Regions from separate parts of the Homo sapiens genome. Here region 1 is linked to region 2. Evidence: promoter capture Hi-C in human tissues and cell types (Jung and others, 2019). All regions are on one chromosome and are shown on one strand. Each heading gives the region's core, a stretch centred on a gene start or on the middle of the fragment in contact. The rest is flanking DNA. Distances are from core to core; before and after follow the strand shown.

Region 1 (6,979 bases), core at 3,314-5,813, 510 kb before region 2:
TTCTCACATTCTGTGATAGGCAGGAAAGGACAATGTATTTCAAGACAGCTTTAACAGAGTATTTCAAATCATCTAATACATTATCTCCATAAATCACTAAAAAGTCCCAGAAATTCCAGGAGTTTTATATCCAAAGACATCCTCAAGACTGTGCCACTCACCACTGCTTTATCACATGATTTAGTATTTATTAACCAAAAATGGTTATCCATCAACAAATGCCTACCAGTAAGTGCTTAGGACTCTCGGCATTTGGCAATTTAATATTCTCAGTTTTAACTATTTATGAATGATCTCAAAAGCCCCAGTATGTAACAATCTGTAATTCTTCAGATAAGGCATATTAAGGCTGCAGAAGTGAATCACTTGATACCAAGTGAGTCTAGCCTCACTCAAGTAAACTACCCAGCATGTTTGTTCTCACCTATGTGACAGCTTGTTAAGTAACAGCTGAATCCTCCCTCAATTTTTAAAATTGAGCTGAAAAGAAAGCCAGATGCTAGTGAGAGAATAAATGAAAATGGAGATGATTAAGAAACTGATGTTCTTGGCCAGAAAAAATAGTTTTTAGGTAAATGAAACTAATCAAAATTAAACGTTATAGTGGTATTGAGGACCCATGAAGCCCCAAGACACAACTCTTGTGAATGTCTAAGAACTTGAGCCAAGTGCTCATGCAGGGGTGCCCAAGCCTAGCTGAGCACTGGAATCATCTTTTAAAAAACACACATTCCTGAGTGCCATGCCACACCTCAAAACCTACTGAATCCAAATCCCCATCTGGGTAGAAATTCTGACACCATCAATTCAACTAAAGTTTGGGAACCCCCAACTATCACAAAACTGAGAGTGCCCAGTAGGGCAACAGCTCCATTAAAGTTCATCAATACCTTAAAATTGCTGCTACTTCTTTTACTCTTTAAAAAGAATTATCTATTTCCTTTTTAAAAGTAAAATCTTTTGGTAAGTATTGCAGTAGCATTTGAACAGAAGGCTCCTCTTTATTCTTTTCATTATGATGGAATCTTTCATTCTTGAAATTTTATGCTTCCTACATTAACTAAAATTTTGCCCTTGTTCACCCCTCAGAGCTGATGCCTGTTCTAAATTCCATCCAGCTACTTAAATAAATTAACACCAACACTTTTGCAGGTATTGAACAGATTTAAATACTACAAATGTTAGTGGCACATGAGAAAAGTAAAATAAGGTTAAGAAACAGTTAACAAGCAAGAAATTCACAAAACAGGCCTCTAGTTATAAATTCAATATGCTATCTACACAAAATACGTAAGTGATGATTATATAAGTGAGCATGATCTGTTTAATTTCTTAGAAAAAAGTTTCATATGATCATGTCTTCAAAATTAAATATATTTATCATACCATAATTGGGTTGGTCTGGCTGTGCAGTTTGCGCAACTAGATCTTTGTTATGACGCAGAAACAGTATTGTGTTTCTCAGAGTAAGTGCATGATCAAAATATCTCTGTGCTTCTCCTTCACCAGTGCTCTGAACCTAAACCAAGAGAAAATAGATTTTGCAACAAAAATACCACTTTTATGCCATTCACTCTAATAATCATATAATAGAGATATAAGACATTATTCAAAAGTAGTAAATCAAAAATTTGCCCAGGCAATACCGAAACAAGTTATTAACCTCAGTCTTGGTTGAGTTCCCAATTTTACTACATCTATGGAGATAGAAATTACTTCAACTAAGACTAACAATTTTAGCAATTGAATAATGCTAAGTTATAGCATTATATGTTACATGTTCCAAATGATTCAAATAGAGTGCTTAAACAACTCTAAAACCCGTATTCTGCTCCATCTAGGAAAGTACTCCAAGGTCACCAGTTTTACCTATAATTCTCATAACTTTGTTCACAATTCTGTATTACCAGTTACAAGAGACACTGGAGTCTGTGATTCAACATAGCTGTTCACCATTGCTGAACACACAGCTTAAATTCACTCAACAAAGATTTACTTAGTGCCTCCTATGGACTATGACCTCCCTAGGAGATAAGGATAGAGTAATGGACAAAACCCCTGCCTTCACTGGCCTTATAGTTTAATGTATGCTCTTCTGAATAAGTCTGAATAAGTCACCTTTTAATAAGTAGAGACATATATCCCAGAAACAACACAGAAAATGGAATGATAGGTCTACCAACGGGAAAATAACTAAATCAGATTTGCATACATTTAAGAAATCAATCTTAAGATCAAACTACTTAAAAAATAGCTAAGAATCCACTTTAAAAACTAAGCCTCAGACTGAAAGGCTTTCCCAAGAATGACTTTGTGATGAAAAAGAACATAGATTTATGAGTAAAAGAGCAGAAGTCAACTTGCAATTTGCTACATTTGATAAAAGACTAGCTGAGGTGAAAAAAAGATAAAAATCAGAAAACCAGAACTTGAAATGTGCAGTAACATAGTAAGAAATTTATTAGTAGAAGATAATATACAATAAGAAATGGGGTTAACAAATAAAGAAGCATGAAGAAATAAATGGCAGTATAAAGGTAAAAGTAAAAGAGACCAATTAATAGCAAAGGATTATCTCACACATATTTCTGCACTAATAAAAGTAAAAATCCTATGGAGTAGGAGCAGTGAAAAATGTTACAGTCTTTTTTTTTTAAGATATAAAGGAGTTGCAGAATCACCACAAATTCTCTAAACAGTGCATTGAAAATACAAAGTTCATCATAAAGCACAAAAGGCACGAAAAGTATTAGTCAAGGAACAGATTAGGCACACAAACTATTTGAATACAAAGAGGCCAGAATAAAATATCCGAAGAATGAAAAACACCAATAAAGGGCAATCAGATTTATTTAGAGCTAAGGAAAACTAGGGCTGTACTCACGGGGAAAAAGGTGGTTAAGAGCAAATATGGCTGAAGTCTTCAAGATGCTAAAAGGGATAGTGAGAGCGGACATAAATATGATACCCAGGGATATTGTTCCAGATTCAAGGTAAATGGAACAAAAACTTCAAATCAAACTGCTTAAGAGGTGATCTTAGAGAGTCATACCAGAAAAAAAATTGAAAGGCTATTTTAGCAAAAATTCAACTTAAAACATTACAGACTAAAATTTCTATACCCCATTTCTTCATTATCTCAAATTATGTTAAGAATTAGATGAGGTAGACATATCACTTTAAAAATCACAAAATCAATTCACCCACTCAATATGTTTAAGTCTAAATGACTGTAAGAGTACTAATTTGGGGAATGAGGTAGGAACGAGCAAGAATACACTGAAAGCCCATCCAAATCAACAGACTGTATAATTGGCATTCTGTCAAGCAAGGACAGATTCCAAATGCCCTAACATCCCCTTACATGCAATCTACATTTACCTTTTCTAGTTCTATAAGAAAGCTGTCCAGAGACTCATCTGAGAGTTTGCCTACTTCAAACATTGTGACTGCATGACTTTTCAAGTTCTGAAAAAAAGAAACAAAATATTAAAGTTCTACTTCTCCCTTTTTATGCTAAGCATACTATCAAATATTTATATTATCCTTTCAAATATATTTAAACTTAAGGATTGGGGGGTGAGGGGCTAATTCTTCCAATTACAAAAGGACCTTCCCTGAAAGTTATTATACTCCTCTAAGTCAGTTGTGCTTCGGGAATAAATGTAGTACTTTAAAAAAGATATAAAAGCATTAAATTATTTTATATCTAGTATTTATTTTAAACACCTTCATATTTAAACAAGAATTGGGCTTACTGGTGAAAGATTTCCCATCATTAAGAAGGCAGTAAGAGTGGAGTCAAACAGGAATGCGATGCGCTTCGTGTGTCCTGTAGACAGACTCAGGCTGCTTACACTGGCTGTGTCAGCTGAAAAACACCATAATTTAAAATCAAGTAAATGGAAATTATTCTTTGCTTACCATTTGGAGTGAAAGTATTTCATTTCAGCTTTATTTGATAACCAGAAAGTACATAATTTTAAAAAGGCACTATTATAGCCATAAGAAGTTCCAGCCATACCTATTTTGAAGCGCAAAGAATATTAAAAAGCATTTAACCCTAGGCCTTGTCCACTATGCTGTGTTTCCCTTTGGGCTTAGCCTCACTATTCTCTCGGGCTGAAATGGCTTTCCTTCCCTGACCAGCTGGCAGGCTCTTCTTCATTCTTAGCTCAAATAACATCTTCTCTGTGAAGGCTTCCCAAACCTCTCTAGCCAATTAAGGGTCTCTTCCTCTTTGCACCCTACAAGCATTATAATTGGTGCCCGTGTTGTTGTAATTTGTTTGGTCACATTCCCTTCTCTCTCCTTAGACTTAATTCTTAGAAGAAAGGTACCATATTCTTGTCAGTTTTATATACCTAGGACTTAGCACAGTGCCCAAAATATAGTAAAACACTCAAAGACTGCGTATTGAATAAAATCTAAACTAAAATTAGAAGGTAACTGTAAGAGTGTATGTTTGGACATGTGCCGTACCTACAGACAGACTCTATGTTAAACTGAGTTACTGCTAACCTGGATCTTCTTGACTATTTGTATCAGTGTCAGTTGCCGATGAAGCTTCTTGTACAGGACTCCTACTTTCCCCTCCATCCCATGACAAGAGCATCTTCTGTGGATCTAAGGTACTCCTATTAATGAAGAATGCATTTGCTTTTTAAAAATCATATAAATGACCTTACATTAAAATATCTACTGAAGTTAAGACTTAAATTATGAACAATCCATCAAAATTCAGTCTTATATTCAAGCCCAAAATTAAGTCGCAGCCCAAAAATGCTCTGCCTACATACAACAAGGGTTCTTAACTAAGATCCACGGATAGGCTTCAGAAAATTCAAGAACCCTTCAAGATTTTATGTAAAATATTTATTTGCTTTTTTTCTGGGAAAAGCCTTCTTAGTTTTCATTATATTCCAAAAAAGATCTGTAACACACACACAAGATTAAAAATCACTAATATAAAGGGCTCACCTCAACTGACAGGTTGAATAAATAAAATTTCTGGGCCAGGTGCAGTGGCTCACACCTGCAATCCCAACACTTTGGAAGGCCAAGGTGGGTGGATCAGTTGGGGCCAGGAGTTCGACACCAGCCTGGCTAACATGGTGAAACCCCACCTCTAACAGAAACACAAAAAATTAGCTGGGCATGGTGGTGCACACCTATAGTCCCCACTACTCAGGAGGCTGAGGCATGAAAATCGCTTGAAACGGGGAGGTGGAGGTTGCAGTGAGCCGAGATCGCGCCACCGCACTCCAGCCTGGATGACAGAGAGAGACTTTGTCTCAATAAATAAATAAATAAATAAATTTATGTATGTAAAATTAAATGTCTTTTCAAAAGGAAACTCTAATAGCTCATACTGAATAAATTTAAGTTACTTTAATCTGTTTACGGATGGAACATTCTTCCATGATGAATGAAGTTGATCCAAATTAATTACTTGTCCCTTCTTATGGGCAAAGCCCAATCGGCAATACATTGAAACAGCATTCTGAAAGGAATATAAAGGAAACTAATTACCATTTAAAATAAACTAGACATCACAATATTTGTAGAGAAAAAATAGTGTAATAGACTAATAGTGATTCTCAAACATTTTCATCCCGTAACCAGAAACTATTTTCAGTAGACCTGCTCCTCCCTTGAAGTCTTCATAAATGTATAGGAGGGAATGTTTCCAACTCTCTGGCCTTGCCCTCCCTACATCTACCCCTAATGAAGCAGGAGTTGTTGCTTTAACGGACCTCACTACAAGATACTGCTTGGGCTGCTTCTTGCATGAGTGCTCTCTTTTCAGTCCATGTGTTTGAATCCCAATTTAGGGCCCCTTTTCCTGCTCTTTCCTGTCTTTGCAAGTGCCCCTTTACTGTGCACGTTCTCTCAGACAGCTAACAACAATCTCAATGTCTTCGTTTCTCAGTAGCTTATCAAGATAAAAATCTACTAGTAAAATCCACTCAGTTATCACATCACCAGTAAATGAGTATAAAAATAACATACCTTAACCAGGGATAAGTCAATCTCAAGGACATTTGCAAGCTAGAAGATAAAATTAAAATTTATTTTTACATTCTTAGAATTAACAGCACATTACACAGTTGTAATAGACCAATATAATCATAATCAGCAAAATTTTAAGTTATGAATAATTAGAAGACTGAATAAATTTTGAATTCAGAACTTTCTTCTTTCCCTATCTCTAAGATCCTTATAGTACAAATCCATGGAGTGACCATAACAATTTAAGATTCCTTACTCTTTAATTTCGTCTCATTTAAAATAAAATTCCTGGATAGATCAATATAGTCTACAATACTTTAGTACAAAAAGTCATATAAAAAGTTAACCAAACTATAAATTATTAACTTAAATTTTAATATACATTTATAAGAACGTTAAGAATAATGACATTTAAGTGTAATAATGGTATGATCTCCCCACATGGAGATTTTAAAAAGATACTACCATATTAAATAACTTTACTTACTTTACACAAACTTACAATCTTGAGATTATATTTTCATGAGACGTTGTCAAACTTACCTCTGCAACATTTGTGTGCTCATCTATTGAAACAAATATCTTATAGAGTAGAGTTTCAAAATAATCACCTTGCACTCGATTCATTACAAAACCTTCAAGAGGTGGAACTAAAACAAACAGAAGAGATTTTTCTCAGTGGTACAGATTTTATAAAACAAGAAAGTATAATTTACATATCTAATTAAAAAAAGAAACCTCTAACTTAGGGACTGAATGCAGCTTTTGATTTATTTATCCACTCCATAGCAAGTTTTCTGAAACTCTACAATACGTACACAGAGAAGACTCTGAAGGTAGACACGAAATCCACAGAGTTCATTTAATTCACCATGGAACTCAGAGTTACTGAGACAGGTAACTCAGAAATGCTGGATGACATGGACTTGGTAGAAGGGTGAGGGAACAGGGGCTGCTTCAGAATGGG
Region 2 (6,443 bases), core at 1,330-3,829:
GGGAGGAAGTGGGGGTAAAATGTGAAGTTACAGTCAACAGCTCCACATCCCTAAAGGGGTCTCTTCTCATCTTTCACTTGACACATCTTTATGCTCCTGTTTTTTGCTTGGCTACTTGATTGTAAGTTCCTGGAAGACAGGAAAGTTGACTAACTCAGCTGTACATCTCCCACAGTGCCTGGCATATACTGGCACACACAAAACCTAGTCATCGGCCGGGTGTGGTGGCTCACACCTGTAATGCCAGAACTTTGGGAGGCCAAGGAGGGCGGATCACGAGGTTAGGAGTTCGCAACCAGCCTGACCAACATGGTGAAACCCCGTTTGTACTAAAAATACAAAAATTAGCCGGGTGTGGTGGCACGCGCCTGTAATCCCACCTACTCAAGAGGCTGAGGCAGAAGAATGACTTGAACCCAGGAGGCAGAGGTTGCAGTGAGCCGAAATCGCACCATTTCACTCCAGCCTGGGCAACAGAGCGAGACTCCGTCTCAAAAACAACAACAACAACAACAACAAAAGAAAACTTGTCATTAACTGTGTAGACAAAAGAATGAATTTCTCTATTTGAAGCATTTCCAGACCTCTTCCTCGGTCTAAAGAGGTTCCCAGCGAGGGCAGTACTGCCCCTCAGGGGCATACTGAAATTTTGCCGGGACAGTTTTTGTTTTGCATTCTATTGGTGGCAGAGTATTTACATTGTGAAAACTCTGTTATTTTAAAATTTTTCTTGATATTAGTACATACAGTATTTTATTATGAACTACTTTCTCCTTTTTCACCTTTATTAGAACATTACATTGGTTTCTTGAAATTATTTGTAGAGATAGTTTGCATTAGGAATTTAACTCCAGAAGAGTAAAGCAGTGTTATATTTTTTGTTGTAAATACAGGGCATTGAATGTGGCAGGGTTGAATACCTTTGCTTATAAAATTAAGCCTTATCCTACACAAGTTTTAGGATTCCAGGATGAAACCTACAAATAAAAAGAATATTGTAGAACACTGATTTCAACGATCAGATTCCACGGCCAGGCGCGGTGGCTCACTCCTGTAATCCCAATACTTTGGGAGGCCGAGGCTGGCGGATCACTTGAGTTCAGGGGTTCAAGACCAGCCTGGCCAACATGGCGAAACCCTGTCTCTACCAAAAATACAAAAATTACCCCGGCGTTAGGTGACGGGCCCCTGTAATCCCAACTACTCGGGAGGCTGAGGCAGGAGAATCGCTTGAACCCGGGAGGCAGAGGTTGCAGTGAGCAGAGATCGCGCCATTTCACTTCAGCCTAAGCGACAACGCGAGACTCCGTCTCAAAAAAAAAAAAAAAATCAGACTTCCACTTGAAGCAATTGCATCTTTTAGGATTAATGTGGCTCAGCGGAGCTCTGCTGTGCTTTTAGGATTACTGTGGCTCAGCGGAGCTCTGCACAAAGGGTCCGCGACTGGGATGGGGGTGGGGAGTGAACGTCAAGGGGCCCAGGAGCGCTCGAGCGTCCAAGGCCCGGCGTGTGGAGCAGCTGGAGGGTGAGTCGCCGCTCTCCGCTTTGGTTCTGTTCCTCCACGTTCTGACCGCGGTGCGGGGGAAAGGGAAAGTGAGTAGGGAGGGGCGGAGACGCCGGGCAGTGTTCCCGAAACCCCTGGCCCTCGCTGGCCCCGCTGCGGGGCTGGTTCCCTGAAAGCCGACGGGATGTGAAGCCCTCGACTCGGACAGAAGCCTCTGGAAGAGCGAGTGGCGGTTCGCAGGGAGGAGGGCGGCTGAGGGGCAGAGGGCGGCTCCGCCTTGCCCGGCGGTTCTGAGTGCAGCTGAACTGAACTTTCGGTGTCAGCGGGTGGAGCTGCGGCCCGCGGAGGAGCGGGGTCCGAAGCGAGGAGAGGTGGAGCTGCCGCTGACAAGGGGCGCGGCGACTTCTGTCAGGGCGCTGGGCTCCCGGCCGGACTCGCAGCAGCCCCCCGAGGGGCGGGGCCTGGGTCGTGTCGCCCCAGGGGATGGGCGTGTGATGACAAGGGGCGTTTCAGTAGAAGCCAGCATGCTTACCTCTCACGATCCAGCAGTGACATTAGGAAGGCGGAGCGCAAGGAAGGCGGGGCTGCCTTCTGTGCTGACCCGAGAGAAGACCAGGCTTCAGTCCACAGCGGGCGGAGCGGTCGCAGGCAAAGGGCGGGGCCATTTCGAGCCCTGGGAAGGCGGGGCGTCTCCTGACAGGGGGCGGAGCTTCCGCAGTCTGGGGCGGGGCTTCTGTTGACAGGGGGGCGGGGCGCCTCCCTACCTCCCGCGGTGCGCCAATCCCCGGACTAGGGGCCGGGGTCGGACCCCAGTGGAGTAGCAGGGTCTGGGCGTGGAGAGCTCGGCGCCGCACGGGGTGGGGGCGCGCGGAGGACGCGCGCGCGGGAGGGCCCCGCCTTGGCCGGCTCTCTCCCTTCCCCCTCCGCCCCCGGACGGCCGCTGGGGCGCGCGCCTCTCCTCGCACCCCCACCCTGAGTCCCCACACTCCGCGGGGCCACCGAGCTGCTGAGGCCCCTTTGCGGGCCCGCCGAGCGGTTCCGGGTTTAGGGTTCACAGGTCAGAGTTGACTCCCTGAAAAGTGCAGCCGGTTTGAAATGCAAGATGGCGGCGGCGTGGCGCTGAGAGGCGCGGCGGCCCCTGCAGGTAGTGGCGCGAGCCGGCTCCGCGACCAGCGGGCCCGGAGACTCTGGGCTGCGGGTGGGAACTGGAGCGCAGAGTCCGCGGCCGGCACGGGAAAGGCGAGTAGCGCGGGGCCTGGCGGGAGGAGGGCAGCCTCACAGCAGAGACCCCTGGGGCTGAGCCCGCTCGCGGCGGCGGGTGGCGGGGTGGACCCGGCGTGGGGCGTCCGAGGGGGAGGGACGGGGCCTGCCTCGCGGCTGGGTAGTCGCCGCAGAGGGACAGACAGACCCACAGCCTCCCTCGCTCTTTTTGGGTGTCTCCGCCACCGAAAGAGCTTGGGGGCGGGGGGCTCTCTGGAGGGAACATCTCAGCCCCCTGCCTTGGTGAGGACCCAGCAACTTAGGATTGTTGAGAGGAGTGAAGACTGCGTATTCCCAGCGGAGGGCGCCGCCGGAGGGAGCACCCCAGTAATGTTGGGAGTCCTAGAGGAGGTCAGGAGCGCTGTCCTCCGGGGGCGTGTGGCTGCCTCGTGGGGGACCCAGTCTCCCTGAGAGTAAGGAGAGATTCTCTTGCTGGAGCTGAGCGCACTGACTGAGGTTGGAGCCCCAGCAAACCCTTCAGGAGAAGTCTTTACCTCCAGTTCAAGGAAGGCTATGCGCACCCGTTTCGGGGCCAGGCCATGTCCCAACTTTGGGAAAGACTGGGAGTTGAGTCCTTAAGAACCATATTACGATTGTGACGAAGCCCTGGGATTTAGGGAGAAGTTAATTAAAGAGGATGGTAGGGGCGTGGGGGTGTGGGGGCTGACCCATGGGAATCCTCCAAGCCTTAGGGCCCACAGTGAACAATCTACTAATACCTCAAGGGGTATAAAAGGCTGGGAAGGAGAGGTGTGAGAGGAACAAGGTCTAAGGGCAGGAAAGAAGAGCCCTGGCAGATCCCCTTTCCTTATATATTTACACCAAAGTTGGAGGTAAAGGGACTTGGCAATTCTTTGTTTTAGTACCTTTCCTGTCCTCTCTCCTCCGTGGGTAACTGTAAGGAAAGAGCATAGCCCCTGAGAAGGAAAAGATTCCATTTGATATCCTTAGCTTAGGTTAGTGAAGGATCCAGCAGCTGGGAAGGCGTCAATGAGAGACAGCAGGCGGGGGAATTAGAACAGAGACTAGGGATGAGAAAAGAGGAATACAGGGAAGATATCGGACAGAGCAGGAATTCCACAGCCCTTTTCTGTCAACTCAGCCCAGCTATTAGAAAAAAAAAAAAATGCGAAGAGCTAATATTTGAGAGAAAAATGTAAAGGCTGAGAGAGAAGTCGTGATGTGATTAGGTTGGGATTCCATGTAACTTAAGCAGTTCTCTTGGAGGTTAATGTGATAGCAGAAAAAGGAAAATCACAAAATTGGAAAATATACAGCGGTTCACGGTTAGGGAGGAAGAAGCAGTCTCCCCCCAGGAACAGTGAATATTTGGTTTGGGGTGTGTGTGTGTGTTGTGTGTATACATATATAAGAGCACTTTAGATTTGCTGGTGTTGGTCATTGTTTCTCAGTCTTTGTCTGAAAGCTTTAATTTGTGTTATATGGTGCTACATTAATTATCTTCGTTTCTGAAAAATTATTCTGAAAAAGTCATTTGTTTTTATGTCGGGAGCGAAGGTGAGCAGGAGTTGGTTTTAACAGGGAAATTGGCCCTAGTATACCCATCGATTATTTTAATTTCTAAAGTAGCAATTCTGACTCCTGATTTTAAGCAAAAGAAATGTGAGTGCTGCCAATGACAATAATGCGGTAACAGGACATAAAAGAAAAAGGGCTTTCATGAATATTTTTTTCCTTTTAGCTTTTCTCTCCTTTCCCAAAGCATGTTAAGGCTAAGCAGACTAATTTTATACAAAGTAAAATGTATAATCGTGGACCTTTTCGATATAAAATGATAGCATTTCAGTTATCAATGAATCTTTTTTGTTGAAGTACCTCTTCAGACGCCTTATTTGACAATCAGGATTAAAATGAGAAAGGGTAATACTTGGGTAACTGATGATAGTGATGATTCATAGAGATTTCTTGAACCATTCTTGTATTTTCGAAAGAGCTTTAACGTCTTCAATGGAAATGTTTTAAAGATACAGTTCAAATAGAAACTAGTTTAGAACTTTACATTTGGAACATTTTATGCACGTGTGCTGTTCTTTGGTTTCCTCAATGTTCATGTAGCTCTGGTTTTATATTCAATTCTGAACAGATTAGGCTGGGTGAACCAGAGAGGCATTAATGCCAGATGGTTTGAAAATATGCTAAATCCGAAAACATAAATGTGCCTGTGCTAGTGAACACTCATTAGTGGATTTCTTTCCTTTATAGCTAAGCTTATTATTTCACCGGATTTGGGGGGTAGTTCATGCATGATGTAGCAATTATTTCACCTTTAATGATAATTGTAAGTTCTTTTTTTTTCAATAATTGGGGACAAAGTTTTACAGTTATTAGCGAAATTAATAGCATAGGAGAGGTGGTTCATTTTGAAGATTTTTCTCCCTTTTGTATTATTATATTTTATATTAAGATGGAAAGGTTATATTATGATGTATTATATTTCTTATGCTAATTAAGCATAAAATGTGATATTTGAGACTTAGTTTGCTGTAAATTATAACTTAATACTTAAATGAAAATGCTTTTAAAATTATTAAAATGATCACAAATGTAGCTGAGGAAATAACCCTTTTATTTGTGTTGCAGCATTGTGGATTTGGGCCCAAAGACTTTACTTAAATAAACAGTGTTGAAAGTTCAGCACCTAGTTTTTAATCTAATATCATAGTCAGTGCAATTATTCAGAGAGATTTTTGGAATTATCTATTGTACTGTTTATGGTGCTAGCCAGTAATACACATTTTTTAAATCATTATAAATATTTATTTATGTTGTGATAAGCACATTTACTGTTAAGACTAAATTTTTTGAACTTAAAATCCTTTTAAATAATCCTACGTAGTTTCAAAAGTAAGTTATAGTTCTGTTTTTAAAACTGATACTATCTTTAGAATAAGAGCCAATGTTTCTATACTATTATTGATAAATTTTATTGTATCCTTGTTGCTCTGATATATTTGTAGTCATCAATAACCAGATTTGCATGACTAAAGTTGCTGACTTAGATTATTAATCAGAATATACATTTGAGTTTACATTTTGGAGATCTGCATTTTATACAGGATATTCTTAAAGTAAATATTAATATGTAACTTTGTATGTAGTTGCCAGGTTTTGATCTTAAAAGATACTTAATCTTGGCATTTTATACAATCAGTTTCCAACTTAAGAGGTAAGACTGTATACCTTTGGTCTAAACAAATGTGATGATATACTTTGTAAAATAAGTATATATGAGCAGTTTAAGAATTATGTTTATTCAAGGGAGCCAGTTGAATACATTTTTTTTTTTTTTTTTTTGAGACGGGGTCTCATTCTGTGGCCCAGGCTGGAGTGCAGTGGCATGATCATGGCTCACTGCACCCTCAAACTCCTGTGCTCAAGCGATCCTTTCTCCTCAGCCTCTTGAGTAGCTAGGACTACAGTCATGTGTCACCCACGCCCGGCTAATTTTTAATTTTTTTTTTTGTAGAGATAGGGTCTTACTGTGTTGCCCTAGCTGGTCTCAAACTCCTGGCCTCAAGCAATCCTTCTGCCTTGGCCTCCCAACATGCTGGGATTACAGGTGTGAGCCACTGCACTCAGCCAAATAAATCATTTTTAATGCAAGATTTTAATTTTCAGTTCTTAGTTTTAGATTTTAAAAAATATTATCAGAATTTAT

The links. The method cuts DNA at HindIII sites, captures the fragments that hold promoters and counts their contacts. A contact is called where the count stands out against the background at its distance.
Region 1: a fragment that was not itself captured here is called in contact with the fragment with the promoter of ZHX1 in region 2 in 1 of the 25 tissues and cell types used here (IMR-90 fibroblasts).

Annotation. Positions count from the first base shown.
Region 1 is chr8:123,784,153-123,791,131 of GRCh38, reverse strand. It overlaps FAM91A1 (family with sequence similarity 91 member A1), which reads right to left. Exons shown (of 24, transcript NM_144963.4): 9 at 6,556-6,662; 10 at 6,013-6,051; 11 at 5,391-5,503; 12 at 4,522-4,637; 13 at 3,759-3,871; 14 at 3,382-3,468; 15 at 1,387-1,519. Among named protein-coding and RNA genes, the nearest start is that of FAM91A1, 19 kb to the right of the region's middle. The HindIII fragment of the contact is 4,773 bases long and covers 2,177-6,949 here.
Region 2 is chr8:123,270,422-123,276,864 of GRCh38, reverse strand. It overlaps ZHX1 (zinc fingers and homeoboxes 1), which reads left to right and starts at 2,579. Exons shown (of 4, transcript NM_007222.5): 1 at 2,579-2,648. It overlaps ZHX1-C8orf76 (ZHX1-C8orf76 readthrough), which reads left to right and starts at 2,579. Exons shown (of 6, transcript NM_001204180.2): 1 at 2,579-2,648. RefSeq lists an enhancer at 1,229-1,348 and silencers at 1,829-2,518, 2,719-2,918, 2,955-3,322. The HindIII fragment of the contact is 11,288 bases long and covers 1-4,591 here.